Regions from separate parts of the Homo sapiens genome. Here region 1 is linked to region 2. The links are contacts of gene promoters, found by promoter capture Hi-C in human tissues and cell types (Jung and others, 2019). All regions are on one chromosome and are shown on one strand. The core of a region is centred on a gene start or on the middle of the fragment in contact, and the rest is flanking DNA. Distances in the headings are between cores, read along the strand shown.

Region 1 (5,017 bases), core at 1,998-4,497, 110 kb before region 2:
CTTGTAGGGCAGGCCTGGTGGTGACAAAATCACTCAGCATTTGCTTCTCTGTAAAGGATTATATTTCTCCTTCACTTATGAAGCTTAGTGTGGCTGGATATGAGATTCTGGGTTGAAAATTCTTTTCTTTAAGAATGTTGAATATTGGCCCCCACTCTCTTCTGGCTTGTAGAGTTTCTGCCGAGAGATCCGCTGTTAGTCTGATGGGCTTCCCTTTGTGGATAACCCCACCTTTCTCTCGGGCTGCCCTTAACATTTTTTCCTTCATTTCAACTTTGGTGAATCTGACAATTATGTGTCTTGGAGTTGCCCTTCTCAAGGAGTATCTTTGTGGTGTTTTCTGTATTTCCTGAATTTGAATGTTGGCCTGCCTTGCTAGGTTGGGGAAGTTCTCCTGGATAATATCCTGCAGAGTGTTTTCCAACTTGGTTCCATTCTCTGTGTCACTTTCAGGTACACCAATCAGACGTAGATTTGGTCTTTTCGCATAGTCCCATATTTCTTGGAGGCTTTGTTCATTTCTTTTTACTCGTTTTTCTCTAAACTTCTCTTCTCGCTTCATTTCATTATTTGATCTTCCATCGCTGGTACCCTTTCTTCCAGTTGATCGAATCGGTTACTGAAGCTTGTGCATTCGTTGCGTAGTTCTCATGCCATGGTTTTCAGCTCCATCAGGTCATTTAAGGACTTCTCTACACTGGTTAATCTAGTTAGCCATTCATCTCATCTTTTTTCAAGGTTTTTAGCTTCTTTGCGATGGGTTTCAACTTACTCCTTTAGCTCGGAGGAGTTTAATCGTCTGAAGCCTTCTTCTCTCAACTCGTCAAAGTCATTCTCCATCCAGCTTGTTCCATTGCTGGAGAGGAGCTGCGTTCCTTTAAAGGGGGAGAGGTGCTTTGATTTTTAGAAATTTCAGCTTTTCTGCTCTGTTTTTTCCCCATCTTTGTAGTTTTATCTACCTTTGATCTTTGATGATGGTGAGGTACAGATGGGGTTTTGGTGTGGATGTCCTTTCTGTTTGTTAGTTTTCCTTCTAACAGTCAGGACCCTCAGCTGCAGGTCTGTTGGAGTTTGCTGGAGGTCCACTCCAGACCGTTTGCCTACGTATCAGCAGTGGAGGCTGCAGAACAGCGCATATTGCTGAACAGCAAATGTTGCTGCCTGATCATTCCTCTGCAAGCTTTGTCTCAGAGGGGTACCTGGCCGTGTGAGGTGTCAGTCTGCCCCTACTGGGGGATGCCTCCCAGTTAGGCTACTTGTGGGTCAGGGACCCACTTGAGGAGGCAGTCTGTCCGTTCTCAGATCTCAAACTCTGTGCTGGGAGAACCACTACTCTCTTCAAAGCTGTCAGACAGGGACATTAATTCGTATTACTTCTAAGACTCCTTTCTGTAATTTCTGTGCTAAAAATTCCACTGTGCTTAACCATTAGAGTGCTAAAAAGCCCTCCCAGGACTTCTTCACAGGCATAGATGAATTATTACTTTCTTCATATCAAACTATTTTTTTTTTGGTGCCTGTATGATGTCTAGCACTACATGAGGCACTGCAGAGCTCTACCAAGATGTGAATTTTGCCTTTTATCAGTGGTGTCTGGTTCATAATATATGCACAATACATATTTGTTGAATAAATTAAGGATCTGAGTGAGAGAACTATGGTATCTCTTGTTCTGTTGTGTGCCATTTCCTTACTTTAAAGCCAATTACCCCATTGCTTATGGTAGGGGCAGTGTTACCATAGGTCAAATCTCCAAGAGCTTAGGAATGCAAAGGGCTCTGAGAGAACACAATAAACACCCTAGAGCTTAACAATAAGTATATGCATTCATTGAATAGGAACATAGTCCCTCTTCATTTACACATGGTAATTTTCACAGATTATAGACCATATTAATTTCAGCCTTTTTTTTAGGAAAAGAAGTTGTTCTGATGTTTTTTTGTATAGTCTGTTGAACTGAAAACTATCATGTATTTACTTGGAATTATTTAGAACAAATAAAGATTATTTTCTTGTATGGAGATCGAAGACTCACAATGTTACTTTACCAAAAGAGTAGTTACTAAAACATCTACTTTGAAAATACACATTATTGACTGACTCTTAGAGCCCATGAGGCTACAAGCAATTTCAATCTATTAGAACTCAGTGATTTCCTAGGCAGCAGGAGAATAACTGACTAGAGTTACTACTTGATTCCTCTATTCAAATTGCAAGAACTAAATTATATTGGGAATGCATATGGCAAGTGGAAGGAATAAATAATATTTAGTCACTACAAGTAAAATATAATCATAACCAGAAAAAAAATTTATGAGAGAATGAAACAAAGACAGAAAATTTGCATCCTAGGACTACAAGGAGAGACTCCTAATAACTCACCTCAAGTATAGCCATCATCTAGCTCCTCAGTGTTTATAAAGTAAAGGTTAAACTGCTTACCTTGGTAGGCAAGGCATGCTACATTCTGATCCTAACAATTACATCCAGTCTCAATTCTACTTTCTCCTCCCTTTACCTCCTGGCCACATAATTGACATTTAGAGCAATTTACCAGAGTATATATTCACACATGTAGGCAGAAAATTTAATCAGTATTTTAGTGCTTAACTCTTAAGTATGAGCACAGAGACAAGAATCATCAGACATTTAGGGAAAGCCACCAACATAAAAGAGACCCAAATAAACAACCACAAAGCAATCTGGAGTTAATAGAGGCTATGAAGGGAATGGAGAATACTTAAAAAAAAAAAAGCAACAATTAATTTTCTCAGAGAGAGATAAGAAACAAATCAGAGAACAAGAAAGAGTAATTGGAAATTAAAAATGAAAGAACTGAAATTAAAAATAAATCAGTTAAAGAAATGGAAGAAAAAGCCAAGGAAATATTTCAGAAAATAATATAAAGTAGTTGAAAGGATGGACTACAGGAAAAACAAGCTAATTAAAGGGTCAATCAAGAAGGCCCAATATCAAATTGGCTCCATGAGGGCAATGTTTTGTTCACTGCTATTACCTCTAGCACAGAATTACAATGCCTTGCTAGGGGAGGGGCATGATAACTATTTGTTGAATGAATAAATGCATGCTCCAAAGAGAAATCAGAGGGATAATGATGGGATCAAAAGAGGACGAAAATAAACCTTCCCCAAAATGAAGACCATGTATCATATAAAATGGCCCATCAACTGTCCAGCACATTTTTTTCAAAACCCGTATTAATTATTAATGCTCATTATCATAAAATTTCAAAATCAGAGATAATGAAAAGATACTAAACCCAAGAACCAAAAACTAGCCATATGCAAAGAATGAGAAATCAAAATGGCTTAGATTTCTCAAAAAAATATTACAAGTTAAAAGTTATAAGAACAAGCCTTCAAATTCTAAAAGAAATTATTTCTTAGCCCAGAATTATTAATCAAATGGTGAGGTAGAATAGAGACATTTTTGCATGTGAAAAATAACAGAAAATGTCTGTCTCATTCTTGTTTGAATCTGTTCCCCTACTTACTAGGTGTGTGACCTTTGGCAAACTACTTCAGCTCCCTTGCCTCACAGCGTAATTCACATGTAAAATGGGGACTCCCCTCAGACCTCCTTCATAAGGTTGCTGTATGGATTCTGTGAGTTATTTCATGAGTAGTCCTGAGAACAGAGCCTGGCATAAAGTAAGTACTCAATAAACTGTTAATTACTATTTTTAATTATTCTAAAATAAAACGAAAGTCTCCACAAAGCAATAGGATATTTATGAAGTTCATGTGTACATCTTATTTGGTTACTAGAAAGCCATTTGTATTTTTCTTCTTACATAATGTTAGCCATACTTTTTGTATTCTCTTTTTTTTCCATTTGTCTCCCTGTCTTTCTTACTTCAACATTTATTATATTGGCACAACTGCTAAGTTTTTTGGTATGTGATGAGAGAATGACATAAAATCTATGCTTAAGTAAATTGAGGGAAAAAGGGAAAAATGCAAGAAAAAAACTTGTTCTCCAGACACAGTGGGAAAAAAATAGAATTAAACTTATATTGCACTTTTAAATCAATTTTTTGAGTTAAAAATTATAAGTGAAAATGATGCTCTGAGATTAGAACCAATTCATTAATCAATGTTGAATACAAGCACTTGGCTATGTCTCCAGCTCCTAATGCCTTTCTGAGCTGACACGCTTCATTATTGTCAGATGAGTTTTCAATTGAGAGGGATAGCTTTGAACACTCAACTGCCCTTTAGCAGGCAAACACGCAGGAAATGGCACAAGAAGCTTGAAACCAAACTCGTGTTCCTGGACTCAGTTTGGTTTTCACTCAGTGTGGCTGACTGGCACCTGTTTCAACAAACATTGGTACCCTTTCCCTCTATTCCTTCATGAAGCTATCTTCTCAGCTGAGGAACAATTAGAAAAACATTTGGGGCACATGGAAGGAATTAAAAGAATATCCAAAGTAAATTCTCCTCCTACCACACAATAAACCCTGACTCCCATAACAGAAAAATCCACTTGCAAATCAAATTCTAAAGCATTCTAAAGGATGGCTTTGGTGAAGACTGCTTGAAATAGCTTATGGGTAGGTCCAGATTTTCAGCACAACTGGATTTTAAGTGTAAGGAGAAATGCCTTTCTGCAGTCCTGTTTCCTCTACGTAAACAAGGTGTCCTCAGCACGGCCCTCAGAGGCCCACCCACTCACACCTGCCAGGATGTTGCTGGCCTCCAGCACATGCTTCCCCCAGTGAATTCAGTTCACTCCAAAAGAAAGAAAAATTACATAAGGTTTTCTCAAAACCAAACAAAACAAAAACATAAAAAACTGACATCTCTATTACCCTTTTGTTTTCCAGAAGTGCTAGCAGAATATCAGGATAAGATGGACAAAACGCAGGCTGAAAGGCAAGAAATCTGGCTCTAACACCAAAACCTCATGCCAGCGTTCTGAGTCTGCATTTCTTCCCTATAAAATACTGGTGATTCCTATTTATAGGCCTTCTTGCCTCCTTGAGAAAATCAAA
Region 2 (4,941 bases), core at 362-2,861:
ACGTGATCGTAATTGTTTTTAAGTTATTGGGTTAGTTTTTTCTTTTGCCAAGATGAGATTTGGCTGGACATCTCCTTTCAGGAGAACTCTAAAAAGTACCCACTTTAGGTCTAACTTTTCATTGACTACTCAGAAAGCTTCTGGTGACAGGTATCATTTCTACCAAAAGTAAAGTCCGGGTGCAAGTCAGAACTCTTTCATCTTTGCTAAACCAGAGCGAGATGTTTTCTTTCGACTGTTTCATCTACTTAGAATTAATAGCATTTCTCCTCCCGCCTCCCGGCCCCCGCCCCCCGCTCCCCGGGTGGTGAACGCCTGAAGAGGGAGGCGTGGTCCCGCGCACCTTGTCTCCGGCCGCGCCACCGGCACTCACCTGGCTGCTGCCGTGCTCCTCGCCCGTCTCCGGGGCCCGAGACTCCGCGGGACTCCGCGCCGGCTCTGCGGGAGGAGGCGGCGGCTCCAGCAGCTGCTCCAGGCAGGCGGTGCCCGGCAGAGAGGAGCTCTTCTGGTGGCACAAGTGCGCCCCGGGGCCCTGACGCCGTGCACCCTCATCTCGGGCGCGGTCCCCCCTCGGGGGAGGCTGGGGCGAGGAGGACAGGGAGGATGAGGCGGAGGAAGAGGAAGGAGCTGAGTCGGGGGAGCGTCCGCCAGGAGGCGTCCCTCCCGCTGCTCCCGAGGCCGCCGCGGGCCCCTTTACGGCGGGGAGCAAATGCTCGCGGATCCGGCGGCGTAGCGTGGACCCCTGCTCGGCTCTGCCGGCGCCGCCGGGCTCCAGGGGCTCCGGCGACGAGCAGCACAGGTTGGGCTGCGAGGAGGAGAAGACTCGGTCCAGCACTTGCTTCCGCTTCTTGAAGCCGCTCCACCTGCTGCCTGCACCACTCCCCCTGGCCGGTGCATTCCCTGTGCCCACCGGGGGTGGCGGGGAGGGCGACGGGGTGTCCGCAGTGCGGCGCTCTGGACCCCCAGCGCGCCCGCCCCCGCCGCCCTTGCTCCTGCCCACCCCCAGCTGCAGGTTCTTCCAGAGCCGGGCCTGGAAGGAGGAGGACGCCGCCGGCGGCTCTGGCTCGCCCGCCGCGGCAGCCCGGGGCTCCATCCTCCACCCCCTGCTCCTCCTCTCCCCTCCTCCTCCTCCTCCTCCTCCTGCTTCTCCTCCCTCTTCGGCTGCACCTCCTCCCGGGTCCCCGCGGCGCTGGCGGTGGCGGCGGCGGCGGCGGCGGGCGCAGCAGCAGAAACCGGGAGTGCCCAGCGACTTCAGGCCAGCTCGGGGGAAAGAAGCGGCCGCCGCCGCCGAGGCTCTCTGGCCTCGGGACTCCGGCGCTGCCTCTTCCTCCCGCACCTGCTGGGGTGGGCTGGAGCCGTAACCGAATCCCGGCCGCGGCGCCTGCAAAGTTTTTCCCTCGAAGCTCCGCGGCTCCAGTCCACTGGCGTCCCCCAGGCCGCGCCCTGGCTCCCTCTTCTCTCTGACCGAGCTCGGGAAGCTGCACGCACCGGGGCGTGCGCGTCCAGCTGCGCCAGGGACCGCACCCGGCGCCCTCTGGGCAGCACCTGTCAGCGGCGGGGGCGGCTGCCTCCAAATTGGGCGCGCACGCGGCTCACACAACAAGGCGCGTCTGGCTGGAGACTCCGGGGACCAGCAGTCCCCCTGGGGCGCCCCGGGACCATCCTCCAGCTCCTAGGTGGGAGGGCCGGTAGGAGCCGGGTGGAGCTAGGTAGGGCCCGAAGCCAGCTTGCTCCCTAGGATCCGGCCACAGTTGCCCAGGCAGCTCGCTGTGCGCTGGCCGCTGGCCGCGCTGGCGATCGTCTGGGTCGGATGAAGCGAGCTGGAGTGGAAACTATGTGCCCTCGATGGGTCTCGTGGGGGCGCCGATCGTCCACACTGAGCGATGAACCCGACGGAGTTCTAAAGCTGAAGACGTCTGCCCCCGCCCCGTTGCGCTCCCTGGGTCCAAGACGAGAGTTTAATTTCTTCTGTCTTGACTTCATCCCCATCCACCCCTCCCTTTTCTTTATTTGCCTCTGCACTGGTCTCTTATGATCAGGTTCTAGCATTTCCGGAGTCTGACGATAAAGCCAGCCCTTAAGTTGCAGGGAGTTTACGGTGGACGAAGATGGGTGATGCGCACTGCCTTTGATCCGATTCGGCACGCACAGAATCTTGTTCTTTTCATTCAAGCGCATTTTTTCTTTGGTTACTTCATTTGCTTGTTGCAAGGCAAACGGAAAAGGCTTTTTAGCTCATTCAGACTTTGCTTCTCCCAAAGCTGCTCAGCCAGGGTCTTCTGATTCTGCTAGGAGAGACTTCTGAAAGGCCAGCAACACAATGCCTCTTTCGTCCTCCTAAATGGGGAAAACGGGAGAGTTCCCTAAGCTGCGGTAGCACACTGATCAGTCTTGTCTAGCTAGCAGTATGCTTTGGAGGTGTTACCAACCTAAGTTTTTTGTTTTGTTTTGTTTTTGTTACCTTTATAACAAATATTTATTAAGCACCTACTATATACCAGGCACTGTGATAGGCTCTGGGGATGCAGCTGTGAACAGGGCATCAGGGTCCCACCCACATGGAGCTTATTGTGAGGGTGAGGGTTGGGAGGTGATGCGAGACAATAAACAGAATTTCTAATATGCAAAAGTCCCATGGAAACAGTTAAGCAGGGTACCACATAACAGAGTGGCTACAGAGGAAGAGCTTCCAGACAAAATGCAGGACACCCAATTAAACTGACTTTCAGAGAAACAATGAATAATATTAGTATATGTATGTCCCAAATATTGCATGGGACATACTTATACTAAAATACTATTATTTATCTGAAATTTAAATTTAACTGGGTGTCATGTTTTTGTTTGCTAAATCTGGCAGCCCCATATGGAGAGGTTTTTGGTTTTTTACATTATGTGTACAGGGAGAGTCTCTCTGAGAAGATAAAATTTTGAGTTAAGACTTAATGAGGACAGAGAACCAGCTATTGACGGATCTGACTGTAGAATTTCAGGTAGAAGGAACAGCAGATACAGAGGTCCTGAGGCAGGAAGCAGCTTGACTGGGCATATTCAAGGACAGAACGATACCACTCCAAATAGAGTAGAGCAAGGTGGGTGGGGTTGGTAAGAGATGTAGTGAAACAAAAGGTCAGCTAAGGGAGTGGGTCCTATAGCCAGAGTGAGAGTCCATGTTTCCTCTAAATGAAATTGGGAGACATTAGAGGTCTTTTTTAATCGTGAGGGTAATGTGATGTGATTTACTAATACTAATGCCAGGTATTAATAAATAGCCTCACAGGGCTATTTTGAAGATTAAGTGGAAAAAGGACTTAGCTCAGTGCCTGTATATAGTTGATATTATTGTTATTTGGTAGACCCAGTATTTCCCAAGTATATGAATACTATGCTTTGGAAAAAGAGCAACGTGAATGGAGAAACACTGGGCTGCATTTAAATAATATTATTGAAATGACAAGATTATAGAGATGGATAGTGGTTGCCAGGGGTTAGCGGTGGGGCAAATGTAAAGGATCAGAATAAAGAAGTTTATTTGTTATGATGAGACAAATTTAGATTGTGGTGGTGGTTACATGAATGTGTGTTATACACAGGATAGGACTGCATAGAACTACATACATATATGAATGCACATAAAAACGTGACATCTGAATAAGATAAGTTGTACCAATGGCAATTTCCTGGGTCTTAATATTGAACTATAGTTATGTATGATAATATCATTGGGGGAAATTGGGTGAAGGTCACACAGGAGCTCTATGTAGTATGTTTGCAACTTCCTGTGAGTCCATAATTATTTTAAAATTTAAAGTATAAATAAAAGCAAACAATAATAAAGCATGTTTTTTTGAAAAAATTGTGTGCTGCTGAAAGTTTTCCTTTGGAACCTTAATAATTAGAGAATGAAACAGTCTTAGAGCTACGATGGCCTACCCTTTCTTTGTAGCTCTGTTCTGGCCAACCCCACCTAATTCCTGAGGAAGCCTCTGAGAAGCAAATGAGGGAAAAGTCAGGACTGGTGAGGCAGAGTCCACATTAGGGCAAGCTCACAACTGCAAAGGTAAACACAGAGGCTGTGAAGCACTCTCCACACAGAATAAGAAAAGCCAACCACATTTGCCTTTATGGAGGTACCTCCCCACCGGGTGAAAGCAGAAGGGTTGGCATTTTTCACTGGCTTTTCCTTCCTCTTCACTCCAGTTTCCTTTCTCTGTATTTTATTTCTGTGTTAGTCCTTACTTTTCAAAGTTTCAGGTAAACCTTTTAAAGTTTCAGTTAAAACTCTTCAGCTAAATTATAAATATCATAGCTAAGTCTAACTGTGTAAGCTGGTGGTGGCTTAAGTGTTAACTCTCTCTGGAGTATTTATGAGCTTTATATATGGGAGCTTTATAAAACTGAAAATCTCCATCAAAATAAGTAGAAACCTTCATTAAGGACTTGGCCATTCAAGGTAGTGTTAGTCTTACAAAGCGAGCTACACACCAACTTCAGAGGCTTTCGCTCCAAACCTGCATCAATCCCTTATTAAATCAATATGGAGATCATTTTCAAAAGCCCAAGGCAAACTGTCTTTTCTACACCAATCAAGCTGAAAGCACCAAGACCACAAAAAACTACCTGAATATAAAGCTGCTCTGAAAGCACAAAAAGAAACTGGACTACCCAGAAATCTTATTCTCTAGAGAGAACAAGAGGAAAAATATTTTGTTTCTAGTTTGTTATAATTGTAGACTGGAGATAATGCTACACAATTCAACCTTAAATTCATTTAGTCTTCAATGCATTTAATTGACTTTTTAATATTATTTTTCTCTTCTACCTGTCTTAAAATACTCTGAGATATTGAGTTCTGAAATCTATAATCCCAAATAACACATCCATCATATGAATTCATTTACATATCTTGAAAAAGCATATGTAACTTTTCCTAAATATCTG

What was found. Contacts are between HindIII fragments. The study calls those that stand out against the background at their distance.
Region 1: a contact is called between a fragment that was not itself captured here and the fragment with the promoter of MCTP1 in region 2, in 3 of the 25 tissues and cell types used here (bladder, small bowel and thymus).

Annotation. Positions count from the first base shown.
Region 1 is chr5:95,171,089-95,176,105 of GRCh38, forward strand. The region is part of intron 1 of MCTP1 (multiple C2 and transmembrane domain containing 1); the gene reads right to left. LOC105379085 (a long non-coding RNA gene) reads left to right here. Exons shown (of 8, transcript XR_948575.3): 4 at 3,518-3,671. Among named protein-coding and RNA genes, the nearest start is that of MCTP1, 110 kb to the right of the region's middle. The HindIII fragment of the contact is 5,787 bases long and covers 355-5,017 here.
Region 2 is chr5:95,283,483-95,288,423 of GRCh38, forward strand. MCTP1 (multiple C2 and transmembrane domain containing 1) reads right to left here and starts at 1,612. Exons shown (of 23, transcript NM_024717.7): 1 at 374-1,612. The coding sequence starts at 1,093. RefSeq lists silencers at 701-820, 901-960. The HindIII fragment of the contact is 12,418 bases long and covers 1-4,941 here.